Linked DNA regions of Homo sapiens: regions 1, 2 and 4 are each linked to region 3. The links are contacts of gene promoters, found by promoter capture Hi-C in blood cells and fetal thymus (Javierre and others, 2016). All regions are on one chromosome and are shown on one strand. Each heading gives the region's core, a stretch centred on a gene start or on the middle of the fragment in contact. The rest is flanking DNA. Distances are from core to core; before and after follow the strand shown.

What was found. Contacts are between HindIII fragments. The CHiCAGO score rates a contact against its expected background, and 5 or more counts as called.
Region 1: a fragment that was not itself captured here is called in contact with the fragment with the promoter of TPD52L3 in region 3 in 1 of 17 cell types (endothelial precursors); the score reaches 10.4 in endothelial precursors.
Region 2: a fragment that was not itself captured here is called in contact with the fragment with the promoter of TPD52L3 in region 3 in 1 of 17 cell types (endothelial precursors); the score reaches 5.0 in endothelial precursors.
Region 4: a contact is called between a fragment that was not itself captured here and the fragment with the promoter of TPD52L3 in region 3, in 1 of 17 cell types (endothelial precursors). The highest score is 6.0, in endothelial precursors.

Annotation. Positions count from the first base shown.
Region 1 is chr9:6,068,152-6,070,851 of GRCh38, reverse strand. LOC124902116 (a long non-coding RNA gene) reads left to right here and starts at 2,560. Exons shown (of 2, transcript XR_007061410.1): 1 at 2,560-2,698. RefSeq lists enhancers at 1,593-1,652, 1,663-1,712. The HindIII fragment of the contact is 2,699 bases long and covers 84-2,700 here.
Region 2 is chr9:6,040,259-6,042,958 of GRCh38, reverse strand. No RefSeq gene overlaps it. Among named protein-coding and RNA genes, the nearest start is that of RANBP6, 26 kb to the right of the region's middle. The HindIII fragment of the contact is 4,400 bases long and covers 1-2,700 here.
Region 3 is chr9:6,327,050-6,329,749 of GRCh38, reverse strand. TPD52L3 (TPD52 like 3) reads right to left here and starts at 1,375. Exons shown (of 2, transcript NM_001001874.3): 1 at 788-1,375. The coding sequence starts at 1,154. It overlaps LOC107987046 (a long non-coding RNA gene), which reads left to right and starts at 1,482. Exons shown (of 3, transcript XR_001746614.2): 1 at 1,482-1,549. The HindIII fragment of the contact is 1,804 bases long and covers 833-2,636 here.
Region 4 is chr9:6,594,388-6,597,087 of GRCh38, reverse strand. GLDC (glycine decarboxylase) reads left to right here. Exons shown (of 25, transcript NM_000170.3): 9 at 1,969-2,074. Among named protein-coding and RNA genes, the nearest start is that of GLDC, 50 kb to the left of the region's middle. The HindIII fragment of the contact is 8,591 bases long and covers 1-2,700 here.

The DNA.
Region 1 (2,700 bases), core at 184-2,683, 260 kb after region 3:
TTCTAGGGCTCAGAATGAAGACAGAGCAGCTTCCCTGGAGACATTCTGCTCATGGTGATATAAGAGGCACAAGAGAGCAAGCTTCACTACACAAACATATTTCAAGTTTTTCTTTGACACAGAAAGTTACATTGCTTGAGTCCGAAGTCAGTGTGAGAACTACCCATCTTTAGAGTGGTAGTTCCCAGCTAGAGGAGATTCTGTCCCCCACGGGAGGATATTGGCAATGTCTAGAGGCATTTTTGGTTGTCACAATCGCAGGTGGTGAGTAATATACTGATATCCATTAGGCAGAAGCCATGGATGCAGTTAAACATCCTACAATGCCCAGTACAGCTCTCCACATTAAAGAATTATCCAGCCCCAATGTCAATAGTGCTGAGACTAAGAAACCCTGCTTTAGAGGGAGAAACTGAAAAGTTAGGTGGCAAATGGCATGGATACAGGAAAAGATGAAGAATTTAGGCCTTTAATTCAGTCTACTGCAGATCTTAAATATGGATTCTTCTGTTAGAATTCTTCATTGAAATCTTGTAAATAATTAGCACTTAAAGATGATGATAATATGGAACTTTTAACCTAATCTTAACAGAAGTAAAACTAAAAGTATATTAACCTGGCCCTCTCAAAGCCCATCAGAACTTTGATTTTCTGATATTTTTCTCCATGCCTGAGCTCCCACATATCATGCACAAAGAGGAAGACTGTAGGTCCTGGGCACATCCAAGTGCAACAGTTGTTTGCGCTTGTATAATTGCAGCAGCAAAAGCATGTGTCATTGGAGAATGTTCACATTATCACTTCTAAAGCAGTTCCAAAAAAAGAAAACGTCAGAAAATATTCTCAATAAGTCAATCCCCATAACATTGCCCAATCTCAAAATCAATCGCTGTTAAGTAATAAGAGAGCAGACAGTCATGAGTCTCCCTGTGGACTGGGTGTCAGGCTAGAAGTGGTCGTTGTTCGCTATTTTGAAGGTTAAGAACAGTTCAGGGCCGGGCATGGTTGCTCATACCTATGATCCTAGCACTTTGGGAGGCTGAGGCAGGTGGATCACTTGAGCTCAGGAGTTCGAGAGCAGCCTGGGCAGCATGGTGAAACCCCATCCCTACAAAAAAAACACAAAATTTAGCTGGGTGTGGTGGCACGGGCCTGTAATCCCAGTTACTCGGGAGGCTGAGGCAGGAGAACGGCTTCAGCCCAGGAGGTGGAAGTTGCAGTGAGCCGTGATTGTGCCACTGCACTCCAGCCTGGGCAACAGAGACTCTGTCTCCAAAACAACAACAGCAAAAAAAAACAGTTCAGGGAAACACCCATGTAGGGAAAGGGCGGTCAAGTCCTTGATATGTGGTTTTGGCCATAAATGGTATTTCTAGTGGCTAAGATTTTATATGAGCCTGGACAACATAACAAGACCCCCCCAACTCTACAAAAATAAAAATTAAAAAATTAGCGCACACATGTAGTCCTAGCTCTTGGGAGGCTGAGGTGGGAGGATCACTTGAGCCCAGCAGGCTGAGGCTGCATTATTATGCTATGATCACATCACTGCACTCCAACCTGGGTAACAGAGCAAGAACTTGTCTCAAAAAAAAAAAAAAAAAAAAAAAAAGGACCATTTTGATGCCTTGCCTTTGAAGATTACCTTAGCAATTTCATCTCCCTGAAAAACAAAAACAGATCAGAAACAAAAAGGAAAAGGAACAAAGCTATCTCATAATATTACAAACCATTGTTGTGAAGCCACAGCATGTTCTGCTGACACCCATGTCATTCAGTTAGCACCACTTCCTTATAGGAAAGAGAAAGTGAATGTAAGACATGTGGTGCAAGGTTAAGGCTATAGATTTAAAGCAGAAGTCAGGATATTAATGAGTGAAAAATTCAGAATATACTAATACATGTAAGGTGGGATTTGGCTGATATGGGCCTTTACTGACTGTATTTGCCTTTCAGGAGTATATTGTTAGCCTGCAAACAACAGAATCCTTTCTAGCTAGTCTAAGAAAAAAATAAGGTGGAGAGATTCATTAAACAATAACTGATAGCTCACAGATTCTCTGGGAGGATCAGAGGCCAGACTCTGAGGCCACATAGCCAAACCCAGTGCCCAGACCACACTTTGGGTAAGGCGGGGGTGCGGGTGCTTTTGGGGGAATGTCACTGTCATTGTCATTAAACATCTATAATGCTCAGGATAAAGTACCAGAAGATCACTCCCGCTGTCTGTGACTATCTCGTCACACTGCCCTTGAAGAAATCCTGGTCTCATGTGGATACATATGATTCATAGAAAATAGGTCACATGATTGCACTATAACTACACAGGAATCTGAGCATGTGTAAGTTTTCTGGCTTCTACATTGAGAAGGTAGTACACACAATGTAGAAAATACAAAAATGAAGGCGAATCTTTGATGTTGTGTGGCCACTGAAGGAGAATATCCACTATAGGAAGAAAGAAGGAAAGTAAATAGTAACCAGGGTTCCGTACCCTGAACTGGCAGACATGGTTAAGCCTTCAGCTTAGTAGGACTGCAACACAGGCTGCTGCAGATCTGGAAGATGAGATGCTGCAGGATTCTTGTTGACCTCACTAAACTTCTTGACTCTCCGTTTCCTTGTCAAGACAGCTGGGCACTCTTCAGGATCTGTGGATACTTCAGGGGTTCACAATCGCAGTCTAGTCTTTAAGAAGGT
Region 2 (2,700 bases), core at 85-2,584, 290 kb after region 3:
AAAGCATAAAAGTCACAGGGCCTATAAAATAATAACACAATGAACTATACCAGAAATACTAGAAACCAAAGTATCTAGGTAACAATCAACATGATGACTGGAACAGTACCTCACATGTCATTATTAACATTGAATTCAAATGTTCTAAATGCTCCACTTAAAAGATACAGATTGGCAGAATGGATTTTAAAAAATCACAAACCAAATATCTGCTGTCTTCAAGAGACTCACCTAATGCATAGGATTCATACAGATTCGAGGTAAAGGGGTGAAAAAAGATATTCCTTGCAAATGGAAACCAAAAGCAAGCAGGAGTAGCTATTAGTGTATAATGACTGCAGAAGGTTATTATACAATAATAATATAATCAATCCAACAAAAATGTGTTACAGTCCTAAATATATATGCACCTAACTCTTGAGCTCCCAGATTCATAAAACAATTACTATTAGACCTAAGAAAAGAGTGCAACAGCAATACAATAATAGCAGGGGACTTCAACACTCCACTGACAGCACTGGATAGATCATTGAGGCAGAAAATCAAAAATAAACACTGGAATTAAAGTTCAGTCTAAAACAAATGGGCCTAACAGATATTTATGGAACATTCTACACAGGAACTGCAGAATATACATTCTTTTCATCAGCACATGGAACATTCTCCAAGATAGGTCATATGATAGGCCACAAAACAATAAACTTTTAAAAATTGAAATTATATCAGGTATCTTCTCAGACCACAGTGGAATAAAACTAGAGATCAACTCCAAAAGGAACCCTCAAAACTATACAAATACATGGAAATTAAACAACCTTCTCCTGAATGATTTCTGGGTGAACAATTAAATCAAGATGGGAATTTTAAAATTCTTCAAATGAATGACAGTAGTGACATGAGTTATCAAAACCTCTGGGATAGAGCAGAAGCAGTGCTGAGAGGAAAGTTTATGGTGCCAAATGCCTACATCAAAAAGCCCGAAAGATCACAAATTGACAACCTCACATCACACCTCAAGGAGCTAGAGCAACAAGAAAAAAACAAACCCAAAGCTAGCAGAAGAAAATAAAAAAAATAAAGATCAAAGCAGAACTAAATGAAGTGGAAACAAAAAATACGAAAGATCAATGAAACAAAAAGTTATTATTTGAAAAGATAAACAAAATTGATAGATCACTAGTTAACCAAGAAGAGAGAAAACTCAAATAAGGTCAACTAGAAATGAAAATGGAGACATTACAACTGACACCACAGAAATCCAAATGATCATTCAAGAAGACCATGCACACCTCTATGCACACAAAGCAGAAAATCTAGAGGAAATGGTTAAATTCCTGGAATCATACAACTCTTCTATCTTGAATTAGGAAGAAATAAAAATCCCTAACAGAGCAATAACAAGCAGTAAGATTGAATCAGCAATAGAAAAAAAATGCCAACAACAACAAAAACTCCAGGGCCAGATGGATTCACAGCCAAATTCAAGCAGACATTCAAAGAAGAATTCGGGCTGGGTATGGTGGCTCATGCCTGTAATCCCAGCATTTTGGGAGGCCGAGGTAGATGGATCACCTGAGGTCAGGGGTTCAAGACCAGCCTGGCCAACAGGGTGAAGCCCTGTCTCCACTAAAAATACAAAAATTAGCCAGGTGCTGTGGTGCACCCCTGTAATCCCAGCTACTTGGGAGGCTGAGGCACTTGAGTGCCTGGGTTCAAGGCACTTGAACCCAGGAGGCGGAGGTTGCGGTGAGCTGAGATCATGCCATTGCACTCCAGCCTGGGTGACAGAGTGAAACTCTCTCTCAAAAAAGAAAAAAAAGAAGAAGGAGGAGGAGGAGAAGGAGGAGGAGGGGGAGGAGAAGAAGGAGGATGAGGAAGGGGAAGAAGAAGGAAAAAGAAGGAAGGAGAAAGAGGAAGGAGGAGGAAGGAGAAAGAGGAATGAGGAGGAAGGAAAAGAGGAAGAAGGAAGGAGAAGAAGAAGAAAGAAGAAGGAGGAAGGAAAAGAAGGAGGAAGGAGAAGATGAAGAAGTAAGGAGGAGGAGGAGGAAGGAGGAGGAAGAGGAGGAGGAGGAGGAGGAGGAGGAGAAGAGGAAGAAGAATTGGTACCAACCCTACTGAAACTATTCCAAATGATTATGGAAGAAGGAATCCTCCCTAATTCATTCTATGATGCCAATATCACCTGATACCAAAGCCAGGTAAGGACATAATGAAAAAAGAAAACTAAAGACCAATATGCCTGATAAACAGATGCAAACATTGTCAACACAATAAAATACTAGCAAACCAAATACAACAGCACATCAAAAAGAAAATTCACCATGTTCTAGTGGGTTTCATACCAAGGATGCAGGGATGATTCAACATATGCAAGTCAATAAATGTGATTCACCACATAAACAGAATTTAAAACAAGAATGATATTATTCTCTCAATAAATGCAGAGAAAGCATTTGATAAAACCCAGCATCCTTTATGATTAAAAACCCGCAACAAACTAGGCATAGAAGGAACATATCTCAAAACAGTAAAAGCCATTATGACAAACCCACAGCCAACAACATATGAATGGGGACAAGTTGAAAACATTCCCGCTAAGAATTAGAACAGGACAAGAATACCCACTTTCACCACTTCTATTCAACATGGTACTGAAAGTGGTAGTCAGACTAATCAGGCAAGAGAAAGAAACAAAGGGCA
Region 3 (2,700 bases), core at 126-2,625:
AGTAATGTAACAATTAGTGCACTACCACTATTTTCCCCTCTTTTTCTGAGTCTCAGAGAAGATGAAGTTTTCTTGATCATCTTTTTAAAATAAAAGTTGTAGGCCAGGTGAAGCTTTCAAGGTGACTTTGAGACTGAGGGAAGGAAGGAAATGGGGAAGGGAAAACAAACAAACAAACCAAAAAAACACTACAGATTACTTCATACCTCTTTCAAGCTTAAACAGAACTCTACTTTGGCTTTCTAATAAGCTAGTTTTCCAAAAGAGAGTTTGGGCTTTGGCCTAAGACCCCTCTGGAGCCACTGACTTGCCCATTAGATACAGTCTCAGGAAAGCTAATATAATGGCACATTTCGTCTACAAACTTAAGTGAAAAATAACCAGGTACAAAACTTTGGGTTCTCTATCTTAAAAGCAGCAAATATCTGTGTTCTTTTCTCAAAACTGGATTCTGTCAATTTCCTGAATTAACCACTTTACCATTGTGGTTTGCTTGCTTGTTTTTGTTGGGCAGAGTTGCAAATGTAATAAGGGAAGGGGGTCCTTGCACTGGTTTAGTACCAGGCAAGGTTACCAAGGGGGCTCATTCTGGTTCCAGAAAGTGGAGATGGTCATCCTCACTCTCCAGAACTGGGAGTGGCTCATTCCCACTCCCCGGAATCTGGAGTGGGTCTTCCCCACACCCCAAAACTGAGAGCAGATCAACCCCACCCTCCGCAGAAGAAAGACAGTCAGGGCCAAGCTCTTTTGCCCCCTGAGACTTTGGACTTGATTGTCCCCATCAGACCTTCAAAAGATCTGAATGTGGCCGACTTCTTCACGCCTCCAAGCTTCCTGCAGATGAGAGTGCCCATGGTGGACAGAGCAGCTGATGTCTTCTGTTTCACATAGGTGTTGGAGACCTGAACATCAAGCCAGCTCTTGGACAGATTCTGTCTCAGCCCTACCAAGGCGGTGAGGCCTAACTTCCTCTTGAGTTCCCCACAGCGTCTCTCTTTGGCTGCTAGTACGTGGCGTAGGGTTACAATTTCAGCCTCCAATTTAGTGAGTTTGGTTTTGAGCTCTCTTTGCTCGGGCTCTGTCAGATCCTCCAGTTCAGAAGTCGAGTGGGATTCATATGTGCCCACAGAGGTCTCTGTCCTGGCATGTGGCATGGACTGGGAAAGAAGATCTTCGTTAAGAGAGTCCAGGTCCAATTCTTGGTAGAAAGAGTCGAATTATTGGGCTGCAGAGAAATAATCTTGGCCAGCAGAGTCGAAATCTAGGCCTGCAGGCTCAGACTCTTGGCAGGTGGAGTCAGATTTCAGGCGGGAGGGATCCATGGCCCAGCTGGTACAATGGACACCTTGACAGTTGAGTTGACGACCTGGCCTGTGAAGTAGACACGCTAGCTCGTGGTGTTCACTTCCGGGTGGTGGGGGTGGGGAGCCGGGCTGGTCAGGGTTGCGGAGGTGGGACTTCCCGCCCAAACCGCGAGGCTGTAGAATCAGTGCTCAGCTGAGGCGCAACCCACACTGGCGGCATTTTGGCATTGCGAGGACCTCCTGAGGTAGGCAGTGCAGAGATTATTGTCGAAAAGAGAGGAATTTCTCCTGACATGGTAAATGACAAGCCCTGGCCTTCAAACCAAAGCGTCAGGCAACTGTTTTCCACCACACCAGCTCCAACACTTGAAAATCATTTAAACATCATTGTGCTAGTATGAATTTTCAGTTTTGCAGTTGCATTTTCTTTATTCCGCCCTACCTCCACTCACATTTCTGGAAGCATGTCTGCCTACATTCAAGGTTACCTGTTGTGGGAGGTAGTCTGCACAGTAAAGTAAAACTAGTTAAATAGGATCTATCAGAGTGTGGATCCACTCTCCCCTGCCAACCTGCCACCCCAACCTCCCCCCAACCGTAATTCTGCCGAGAGTAAACTTATGCAATGGAAAAATCAGGACGTTAATCCAGTGAGGTCTTGTGGTCGAGCTTCACTTAGCTCATTCTATGGCTGCCTATTCTCAGAGAATATTCTTGAGCAAGTCTTAGACTCTAGTGATTTTGTTGGATATTCTTGTAATTCTTGCGAGCATGATCTTGTGGAACATAATTTGATCCTCAGCAAATTTCAGCAGTTTGCCCTACTCATGCCTATGTGGCTACAATGAAGCATCCAGCTGTGCATTCAAACCAACTTCAGCCCTCCTTTGAGTTTATGTTCTATAACCCTTTCACATAATTTAGTAGTGTTTATTATTGCCTTGTCCTGAGTGGTGTGTTTCCCTAAGTTAAAAAGTGAGAATTGTTCTTGTAAACATGAAGGCTGATGGAGGATTTGGCTATGTGTTTAAAGGCCTGAAAAGGGCAGCAAGGACTCCCTAAAAACCAATTTGTTCCAGAGGGTAGACTTTTCCTCTATTGCCTGTAGAAACACTAGTGGTTTCAGGAACACTCCCAGACTCTGAATCAGAACTCCTCTTTCAAACCTGAGACTAAAGGGTAAAGAAATCCCTGAATTATGCTACATAATATAGAACACACATTGTCTCTTCAAAGTTGAGACTCCAAATCACCAAATCTGAACTTGCACTTGATTTTACTTCTCTGTATTATTTCAACCACCAACCTTGATGCCTATTTTCTTTATAAGCTTCCTCATCCTTCAGTGTATACTATGAAATCTTTTATTAAGCCTTGATTCCTTTTGACAGAGAAT
Region 4 (2,700 bases), core at 167-2,666, 270 kb before region 3:
AAGGTTCATCCATATTGTAGCATGAATGTGTACTTAATTCTTTTCTATGGCTGGGTAATATCCCATTGTTTGGACATGCTACATTTTGTTTATCCATTCATCAATTGGTAAACATTTGGGGTGTTTCAAATAAGCCTGCTGTGAACACTTCTGTGTAAATTTTTGTATGGATGTAATGTTTTCAGTTCTTTTGGTTATATTCCTAGCAGTGAAATTGCTGGGTCATATAACTCTACATTTAACATTTTGAGGAACTTCCAGACATTTTTCAAAGTGGCTGCATTATTTTACTTTCCTACCAGCAGCATATGAATATTCTAATTTCTCCGTATTTTCACCAATGCTTGTTACTTCCTATCCTTTGGTTATAGCCATCCTATTGGATGTCAAGTGATAATCTCACTGTGGTTTTGTTTTGTATTTCCCTAATAACTAATGATTTTGAGCATTCATTAGCTTTTGAGGCTTTTAAGTACCTTAATTGTATTATTGTTATTTTATTTATTTATTTTAGAGATGGGGTCTTGTTATGTTCTTCTTGCTGGTCTTTAACTCCTGGGCTAAAGCAATCCTCCCACCTTAGCCTCCCAAAGTCTTGGGATTACAGGCGTGAGCCACTGATTCAAGCCCTTTGTATTTTTAAGTTTGTTCAATTTGTGAAAGAAATTGTCATTTTCTTGGTCTCTATTTTAATTTTTTTGGTTCTTCTTTTGATATTCTAGTGCCCTTTGAAGTTTTTAAAAAGTGGTTTTATACTTCTCATCAATTTGTTGTTCAGCCGTGTGATATAGCCTCCTGATTATGGAAGGAATCATCTGTAGATTAAAAAGGGACATGAACCAACCTCTACAATATTGTGGTGGAGGCTGCCAGGGCATTCTGTGAATGTCAGGCCTGGGTTTCTGTTTCCAGCAACACAGCCATGAGCATTTGGGCACAGTGTGTCACAGATTCTTTACCTCAGCCTCGCCTTTTCCACAGCTGTAAAGTGCTGTGGAGTTTCTGTGTTTATTTCTGATTGTTGTAAGGAGTCCATAAGAGTGTTTACACTTTGTCTAGGACTTTTAGTACAAGAATGCCTACTTCCATGTTTTCTGATGTCTCTTTCTCCTCATTTACTTCCTTGTTTGCTGACTTCACCTTTGGAAACTGTTTCTTATTTTGCATTGGCTCCATAGAGACTTCCTCTAGTAGTCTAGCAGAAAAAAAGATGTACCTAACAAAATGGACCCAGTATTGAACATCAACTGTATTTTGCAGAGACAGGGTTTTGTATTGTCAACCGGGCTGGAGTCCAGTGGCGCAATCATAGGTCACTGTAACCTCGAAATCCTGGGTTCAAGTGATCCATCTCGGCTTCTGGAGTCACTGGGACTACAGTTGCACACCACCCCGCTCCCAGCTGAAGTGCGCATTGCCGTTTTTGCCAGTCCTTTGCCACAGATTCTCCATTCAACTCTTGGTTGGCAGAAGTTCAGCCTCTAGTGTTTTATTTAAGTTCTTAGGAGAATTTTATTCCTGAAGTTCTTGAATGTTTGAAAATTGCTTGTTTCTTTTTATTCTTGAAGAATTGCCTGGTTGAGTGTAAAATTCTCAGATCTCACTTTTTCTCCCTGAGGTCTTTATTGCTTCACTGTCTTCCAACATTAAACATTGCTTCTCAATGTCTGATGGTAGTGTGATCTTTGCCCTTAAGGGTGACATGATTTTGTTGCATGGAAGAAGCCCTTCGTAATGGTCAAATGTGAAGGTTTAGTATAGTAACAACTCCAGGGTGTCTTGGATGATGGTTCCTTTCAGGTAGTCAGGCAGGTTATATATTAATTGTCCCCAACTATCAAAGAATGTAGGAAATCTGATCATTTTGTTTTGTCGCTGTCTTCAGTTTTGACATCCCAAGTCAAGTAATTACACCCTCCCACTAATTGTCCTCCATCACGTGATTCTTTAAATGTTCTTATCTTTTAGGCCCTCTTGGCGAATATGGCTGCCATGTTTGCAATCTACCATGGTTCCCATGGGCTGGAGCATATTGCTAGGAGGGTACATAATGCCACTTTGATTTTGTCAGAAGGTGAGTTGGTAATCTGTCTAAAACATTTGGGCATAATAAAATTGATAAATTTGAGTAAAATTGAAAATATTGCATGTCCAATACTATATGCAAAATTAAAAGTCAAGTGAGAAACGAGGAAAAATACTTTCAACATCCATGATTATTTTGTTGTTTTGCTTTCTTTCTTTCTCTTTCTTTTTCTTTCTTTCTTTCTTTCTTTCTTTCTTTTATTTCCTTTTTCTTGCTTTCTTTCTTTTTTTCTTGCTTGCTTGCTTTCTTGCTTGCTTGCTTTCTTGCTTTCTTGTTTGCTTGCTTGCTTGCTTGCTTGCTTCCTTGCTTAATGGAGTCTTGCTCTGTCTCCCAGGCTGGAGTGCAGTGGCACGATCTCAGCTCACTGTAACCTCCACTTCCCGGATTCATGTGATTGTCCTGCCTCAGCCTCTCAGGTAACTGGGATTAAGGTACACGCCACCATGTCTGGCTAATTTTTGTATTTTTGGTAGAGACAGGGCTTTGCCATGTTTTCCAGGCTGGTCTCGAATTCCTGACCTCAAGAAATCCGTCCACTTTGGCCTCTCAAAGTGCTGGGATTACAGGCGTGAGCCACCATGCCTGGCTTAGACTGAGTGTTAATATTTTTTTCT